Regions from separate parts of the Homo sapiens genome. Here region 1 is linked to region 2. Evidence: promoter capture Hi-C in human tissues and cell types (Jung and others, 2019). All regions are on one chromosome and are shown on one strand. The core of a region is centred on a gene start or on the middle of the fragment in contact, and the rest is flanking DNA. Distances in the headings are between cores, read along the strand shown.

Region 1 (3,432 bases), core at 607-3,106, 140 kb before region 2:
ATTGTATCACTAAGACCATATCTTGCTCACATTTTCCCTCAGGTGCCTCTGGGAAAGGGAAGACGCTGTGTCGTTTTAGCAGATGGATTCTATGAGTGGCAGCGATGTCAGGGAACAAACCAGAGGCAGCCATACTTCATCTATTTTCCTCAAATCAAGACAGAGAAGGTATCATTATCAGCATTCACAATATATATTTGGAAAGGCACAGGGAAACAAATTAATCCAAAGGACATTTTTTTCTTCCCCATAGTTTTATTTATTTATTTTAAAATAACAGCTTTGGCCCAGTGCGGTGGCTCACGCCTGTGATCCCAGCACTTTGGGAGCCCAAGACGGGAAGATTGCTTGAGCCTAGGAGTTTGAGACCAGCCTGGGCAACATGGTGAAACCCCGTCTCTACAAACAATACAAAACTAGCTGGGCATGGTGGTGTGTGCCTGTAGTCCCAGCTACTCGGAAGGCTGAGGTGGGAGGATCACTTGAACCCACGAGATAGAGGCTGCAATGAGCTATGATCACACCACTGCACTGGGCGACAGAGCAAGACTCTGTCAAAATAAAATAAAATAAAGTGAAATGAAATGAAATGAGCTCATTGAGAGATAATTCACCTTAAAATTCACCTTTTTAAAATGTGCAATTCAGGAATGTTTTAGTATGTTCAAAGTATGCAATTATTACCTCTATTTTTAGAATATTTTTATCACTCTAGAAGGAAACTACATATCCATTAGCAATCACTCTTTATTCTCCACTATGCCCAGCCCCTGTCAAACACGAATCTACTTTCCATCTCTGGATTTGCCTATTTTGGACATTTCATAAAAACAGAATCATAGAATATGTGGTCTTTTGTGACTGGCTTCTTTGATTTAGCATAATGTTTTCAAGATTCATCCATGTTTGGCATGGATCAGCACTTCATTCCTTTTTGTAAGAACAGACCACATTTTGTTAATTCATTCATCAGTTGATAGACACTTGGATTGTTTCCACTTCTTGGTTATTATGAATAATGCTGCTATGAACATTCATGTACAAGTTTTGCATGGATTTGTTTTCATCTCTCTTGGATAGATGCCTAGGAGTGGAATTGCTAGGTCATATTACAACTCTACGTTTAACATTTCCTTCATAAAACTTTCACTGTGGCTGGGCGCAGTGGTTCAGGCCAGGCACGGTTGCTCATGCCTGTAATCCCAGCACTTTGGGAGGCCAGAGCAGGTGGATTACTTGAGCTCAGGAGTTCAAGACCAATCTGGGCAACATGGCGAAAACCCATCTCTACCAAAAATACAAAAAATTAGCTGGGCGTGGTCCCAGCTACTTGGGAGGCTGAGGTGGGAAGATGACTTGAGCCCAGGAGGTGGAGGTTGCAGTGAGCTGAGGTCGTGCTACTGTACTCCAGCCTGAGTGACAGAGTGAGACCCCATCTCAAAAATGAAACAAAAACCCTTTCACTGTAAGACATAATTTGAACTGTTCATGTTAAAACATTATCAGGAGATTGAAAACAAATCTGACATGCCAACATCATGTTTTATTTTTAATTAGATTATTTAGTCTGACACTGCTAAAGCACCTGAGTTCTTAGCAGTTTGCTTGTTAAAATTGGGAATTGTTTGTTCACCTGTCATCTCATTTTGGGGACTGGAAATAGTGTTACCGAGTAAAAGGGACTTGCTACCCAATGTGCTAGAAGCCAATACCATGATACTGAGTAGCTGGTCCCAGCTACTTGGCAGGCTGAGGTGGAATGATAGCTTGAGCCTGGGGTGGGGAGTGGAGGGTGCAGTGAGCCGAGATTGCACCACTGCACTCCAGCCTGGGTAACAGAGAAAAGTTTTTTTTTTTCTTCTTTTTTTTTTTTTGAGACAGAGTCTCTCTCTGTTGCCCAGGCTGGAGTGCAGTGGCGTGATCTCGGCTCACTGCAGCCTCTGCCTCTCGGGTTCAAGCGATTCTCCTGCCTCAGCCTCCCAAGTAGCTGGGACTACAGGCGTGTGCCACCAGGCCCGGCTAATTTTTTGTATTTTTAGTAGAGACGCGGTGTTAGCCAGAATGGTCTCAATCTCCTGACCTTGTGATCCACCCGCCTCGGCCTCCCAAAGTGCTGGGATTACAGGCGTGAGCCACTGCGCCTGGCCGAGAAAAGTTTTTTATTTCAAGTCGACTAACAAGAAGACAGGAGTCCAGCTCAACTCTGTCTCCCTAGCTGGCTTTAAGGAGTACTTTTATTAAAAAAATGTTTAGGGAGTGGATTCTGGGATTAGTAGGTGATTGGTGGAAGGAAAGGGGAGGCCTGGAAAGTCTTCAGGTATGTGCAGTTATCTCTTCCTGCCTCCATATAGGTCTCATGTGCAAATTCAGGGGGAGTTAGTGTGAAATGTGGTGGAAATTCAGGCTGTGATATAAGCAAGCTTGTTTTGCATATACTCTAGTCAGTTATTGGTTCCAACCAATTCAGCCAGTTTTGTTATCTTACAAGCGGAGGGAGTTTCACTGTTTCAGCAAGTTATTTTCTTATGTGCTATCCTGTAAGCCCAAGAATTTAGTCATTGGTGTTTTTGTTTGTTTGTTTGTTTTTTAACTCTTTGGGGCAGTTTCAGTAGTCAAGAGAGTTTGCCTCACCCTCAGATAATTCCCTATCAGTGATGGGTGCACCAAAATCTCAGAAATCACCACTAAAGAATTTATTCATGTAACCAGACACCACCTGTTCCCCAGAAACCTATTGAAATAAAACATAAATTAAAAAAGAAAATTCCCAGTCTAGCCAGTCTAGTAACACACAAATGATTTGGTACAAGACAAGATTAATTTATAAAACATCTATCAATTATAATAGCAAATATTAAGCACTTACTACTAGTCAGTTACTCTTTCTAGGAACTTAATGTGTATTAGCTTAATATACATTAATTCTTTTTTTTTTTTTTTTTTTTTTTTTTGAGACAGAGTTTCACTCTTGTTGCCCAGGATGGAGTGCAATGGTGTGGTCTTAGCTCACTGCAACCTCCACCTCCTGGGTTCAAGCAATTCTGCCTCGGCCGCCTGAATAGCCGGGATTACAGGTGCGTGCCACCATGTCTGGCTAATTTTTGTATTTTTAGTAGAGACAGGGTTTCACCATGTTAGCCAGGCTGGTCTCTAACTCCTGACCTCAGGTGATCCGCCTGCCTCAGCACCCCCTAAGTGCTGGGATTACAGGCATGAGCTACTGCGCCTGGACTTGAACTTAATTTTTACACTACAGATAGTTGGATTTTCCTTTTTGATTCAGTCTGACAATCATTCTTTTAATTTGTGTTTAGAACATTTAATTTAATGTAATTATTGATGTGATTGGGTTAAAATCCATTGTTTTGCTAGTTTTCTATTTGTTCCATCAACTCTTTGTTCCTTTTCTCCTGATCTTTCTGTTTTGGGAAT
Region 2 (3,323 bases), core at 585-3,084:
GAGTAGCTGGGACTACAGGTGCATGCCATTAAGCCTAGCTAACCTTTTTTTTTTTTTTTTTTTTGAGATGGTGTCTTGCTCTGTCACCCAGGCTGGAGTGCAATGGCATGATCTTGGCTCACTGCAAGCTCCACCTCCCTGGTTCATGCCATTCTCCTGCCTCAGCCTCCTGAGTAGCTGTGACTACAGGCGCCTGCCACCATGCCCGGCTAATTTTTTGTATTTTTAGTAGAGACGGGGTTTCATTGTGTTAGCCAGGATGGTCTTGATCTCCTGACCTCGTGATCCACCCACCTCAGCCTCCTAAAGTGCTGGGATTACAGGCGTGAGCCACCCCACCAGGCCTGGCTAACTTTAAAAAACAATTTTGTAGAGATGGGATCTCACTATGTTGCCCAGGCTATTCTCAAACTCCTGGGCTCAAGCAATCCTCCTGCCTCAGCTTCCCATAGTGCTGGGATTACAGGCGTGAGATACTGTGCCCAGCTACTGACAAGGATCTTAAACTCAACCAACCAAGACTGGATTTGTCTTTGTGCCCCTTCCCCCACTAACTGGGTCCTCTGAGTACGTTCTCTTATCTCTGTGGAAGACATCTCCATCTACCAGGTCCCCCAGCTGCCAACTTGAGAACCATCTTTATTTGCCTCTTCTGTGTTTCCTGACCAACCAGCCCCCAAGTCCCGTAGTTCCCTCTAGCCTGGGCCTTCTCCCTCACCTCCCAGCATCTTTAGCTTGGGCATTTGACCAGAGCCCTGACCTGTGTGCCTGGGAAAGGTGGCCAGCCTCTCCAGCTCTCCCTGTTTCTCCACTGGGCATTAATGTGTTCAGTGCTGGAGAAGCGGCATGGAGAAGACCTTCAGTCTTCAAGCTTTATAGCCCCCAGCTCTCATCTCCCCACACCAACATTCTGAGTCTGCCAACTCAGTCTCAGGTCTTTTCTGACTGCTCCCAATCCAGTCCTGCCACTCCCAGTGGCCTCTCCATCTCCTGGCTTGCAGTATCTTTTATGATCTTGTCCCTTCTGACCTCTCTCACCTCATTTCCAGAGACACCAGACCTCTTGGGTCATGCTGTTTCCTTGCCCGAAATGCTTTTCCTTCCCCTTTTGGCTTGGAGAACTCCTTTTTATCCTTTAAGCTCCAGTGTAAAGATCTTTTCCAAAAGCTTGGAACTGTTCCTCCCCATCCCATACCCTCAGCACACCTTTTACTCCTGGGTGTCATCCCTGGGCCCGGCATTTACCCCTTCTTATTCTGTAATTATCCATTTATCTCTGTCCTTTACCCGTGAAGCTGCATTGCTTTGCCAAGAACTTGGTCCCCAGCACATTACTGCCAAAACCTTGAAGACTGACGTCTTCTCCATGCCTCTCCTCCAGTACTGAATACATTAATGTCCTGCAGAGAAACAGGGCGAGCTGGAGGGCTCCCGTCACATGGGTCGGGCCTCTGGTTCCTCCAACTAGGCTCAGATAGAAATCTCAGAAATGTACATGACCTGCCCCCGACTCCATGGCAACCCTTCACCCAGAGGGGGTCGGCACAATATCTGTGGCTGAGTTTTTGCCCTCACCCCACTTTCACGCGTCCTTAGGGCGCTGAGCGCTCCCTGCAGACGCTTCTTCCCGGGGCTTACCGAGCAGCGACAAGAACAGACTGTGGTACGCTTCATAGTCGTCGTCCATGGTCGTGGTGCTGGGAGGGGGTGCTGAAGGGCGTGTGTGAATGTGTGTCGATGTGGGCTTGCTTGCGTAGGGGTACCGGGGTATCAGATAAACCGTAACTCCAAGTCGTGCGAAAGGCGCTCAGCTCAGACTGCAGAAGCAACCTGTTGCCGTGGCTACGGACGCCCCGCGCCAATTGGCTGAGCGCTGTCACGTGTTAAGAGCGAGCCCGCCCTGCCGAGCGCCTGCTGGCCCCACCTCGTTTTCGTCCAATTCTGGGAGGGGCAGCGAGCAAATCCACGCCCCGCCCAGTTCTGGGCTTGGTGAAAGGCGGGATTTCTTTGTTCGGCCCAGTAGTCCCTGAATCCAGTGTAGAAAGTCTCCGGTTTTCCCGTGAAATGTGGGATCTTCCGCAGGTCTCCATATCTCTAGGCCTCAGTTTTCTCATAGGAAAAATAGGCCCTGCCTCCTCCAGAGGGTTAGGAAGAACCAAAGTGAGCTGTGGCCAGATAGAGGTGTTGGGTATGTTCTGCCCCGCTTATGGCAGGGTGCCATGGTTTGGAGTTACAGAACCTGAGGACCAGAGAATAATAATAAACCCTTGAAATGTGCATCAACTGATAAGCAAAATGAGGTATATCCATAGGATGGCCATAAGAAGGAATGAAGTACATGCTACAATATGGATAAACCTTCAAAACAGTATGCTAAGCAAGAAGCTAGACACAAAAGGCCACGTGCTGTATGATTCCATTTATGTGAAATGTTCAGCATAGACGAACCCACAGACACGGAAAGTAGATGAATGGTTGCTAGGGGATGGGGTGAGTAATTGAAGTGACTGCTAACAGGTGGAGAGATTCTTTTTGGAGTGGAAAAAAGAAATGGAAACTTCTGGAATTAGTGATGATGGCTGCACACTGTAAATGTACTAAACCACTGAACTGTACACTTTAAAATGGTTAAATGGTGGCTTTTAGCTCAATTTTTAAAAAGTTAAAGAGAAACACCTAAGCCCTTATTCCTTTGCTGAGACAAGCTATCTTTGTGACGCTTGCAAACAGATTGTTGCCATGGGCCACATTCACACAGCACTCTTGCAAGCCAGGTACCATTTTAGCACTACATGTCTGAACTTCATAATTACCATCATTGTGTGAGGTAGACACCACTATCCCATTTTTAAAAGACAAGTTAACAGGTACAGAGGTCAGGCAACCTCACCTGCAAGAAACAGGAAAAGCCAGGCCTAGAGCCTGAGCAACCTGGCTGTGTCCTGAGCTCCCCTGGTGCAGAGCTCGCCTCCTGCATTCACACGGGCCCACACTCCCCATGGAGATGCTGGGGGAAGGTATGTGACCACCAGCCCTACCACAAAGCCACACCTGATGCCCTGAGCTTGGTGAGCTCGCCCCACCCTCCAGGCCCAGCTGGGCCCAAGGTTTCAGAGGCCCCTCTCCACCCTCTTTGGGTGTCTTGTCCCTACTCCTTACCGCTTTTGTTCCCTTCCATTATTAGGTGCCCTTCTTTCTCTCTGTGAGGGTCTGTACAGAACTTGTTTATCTTTGTGCCCCTCCCCACCACAGGGCTTTACACTTTGTGAATGCTACTTGGATGTTTGTTAAATGAAAATGTGATGGTAAACTATAAAGTGGGT

The links. Contacts are between HindIII fragments. The study calls those that stand out against the background at their distance.
Region 1: a fragment that was not itself captured here is called in contact with the fragment with the promoter of EFCAB12 in region 2 in 2 of the 25 tissues and cell types used here (mesenchymal stem cells and spleen).

The regions. Positions count from the first base shown.
Region 1 is chr3:129,290,637-129,294,068 of GRCh38, forward strand. It overlaps HMCES (5-hydroxymethylcytosine binding, ES cell specific), which reads left to right. Exons shown (of 7, transcript NM_020187.3): 4 at 43-168. Among named protein-coding and RNA genes, the nearest start is that of HMCES, 13 kb to the left of the region's middle. The HindIII fragment of the contact is 7,582 bases long and covers 1-3,432 here.
Region 2 is chr3:129,426,802-129,430,124 of GRCh38, forward strand. EFCAB12 (EF-hand calcium binding domain 12) reads right to left here and starts at 1,835. Exons shown (of 9, transcript NM_207307.3): 1 at 1,639-1,835. The coding sequence starts at 1,687. RefSeq lists a silencer at 1,972-2,021. The HindIII fragment of the contact is 10,320 bases long and covers 1-3,323 here.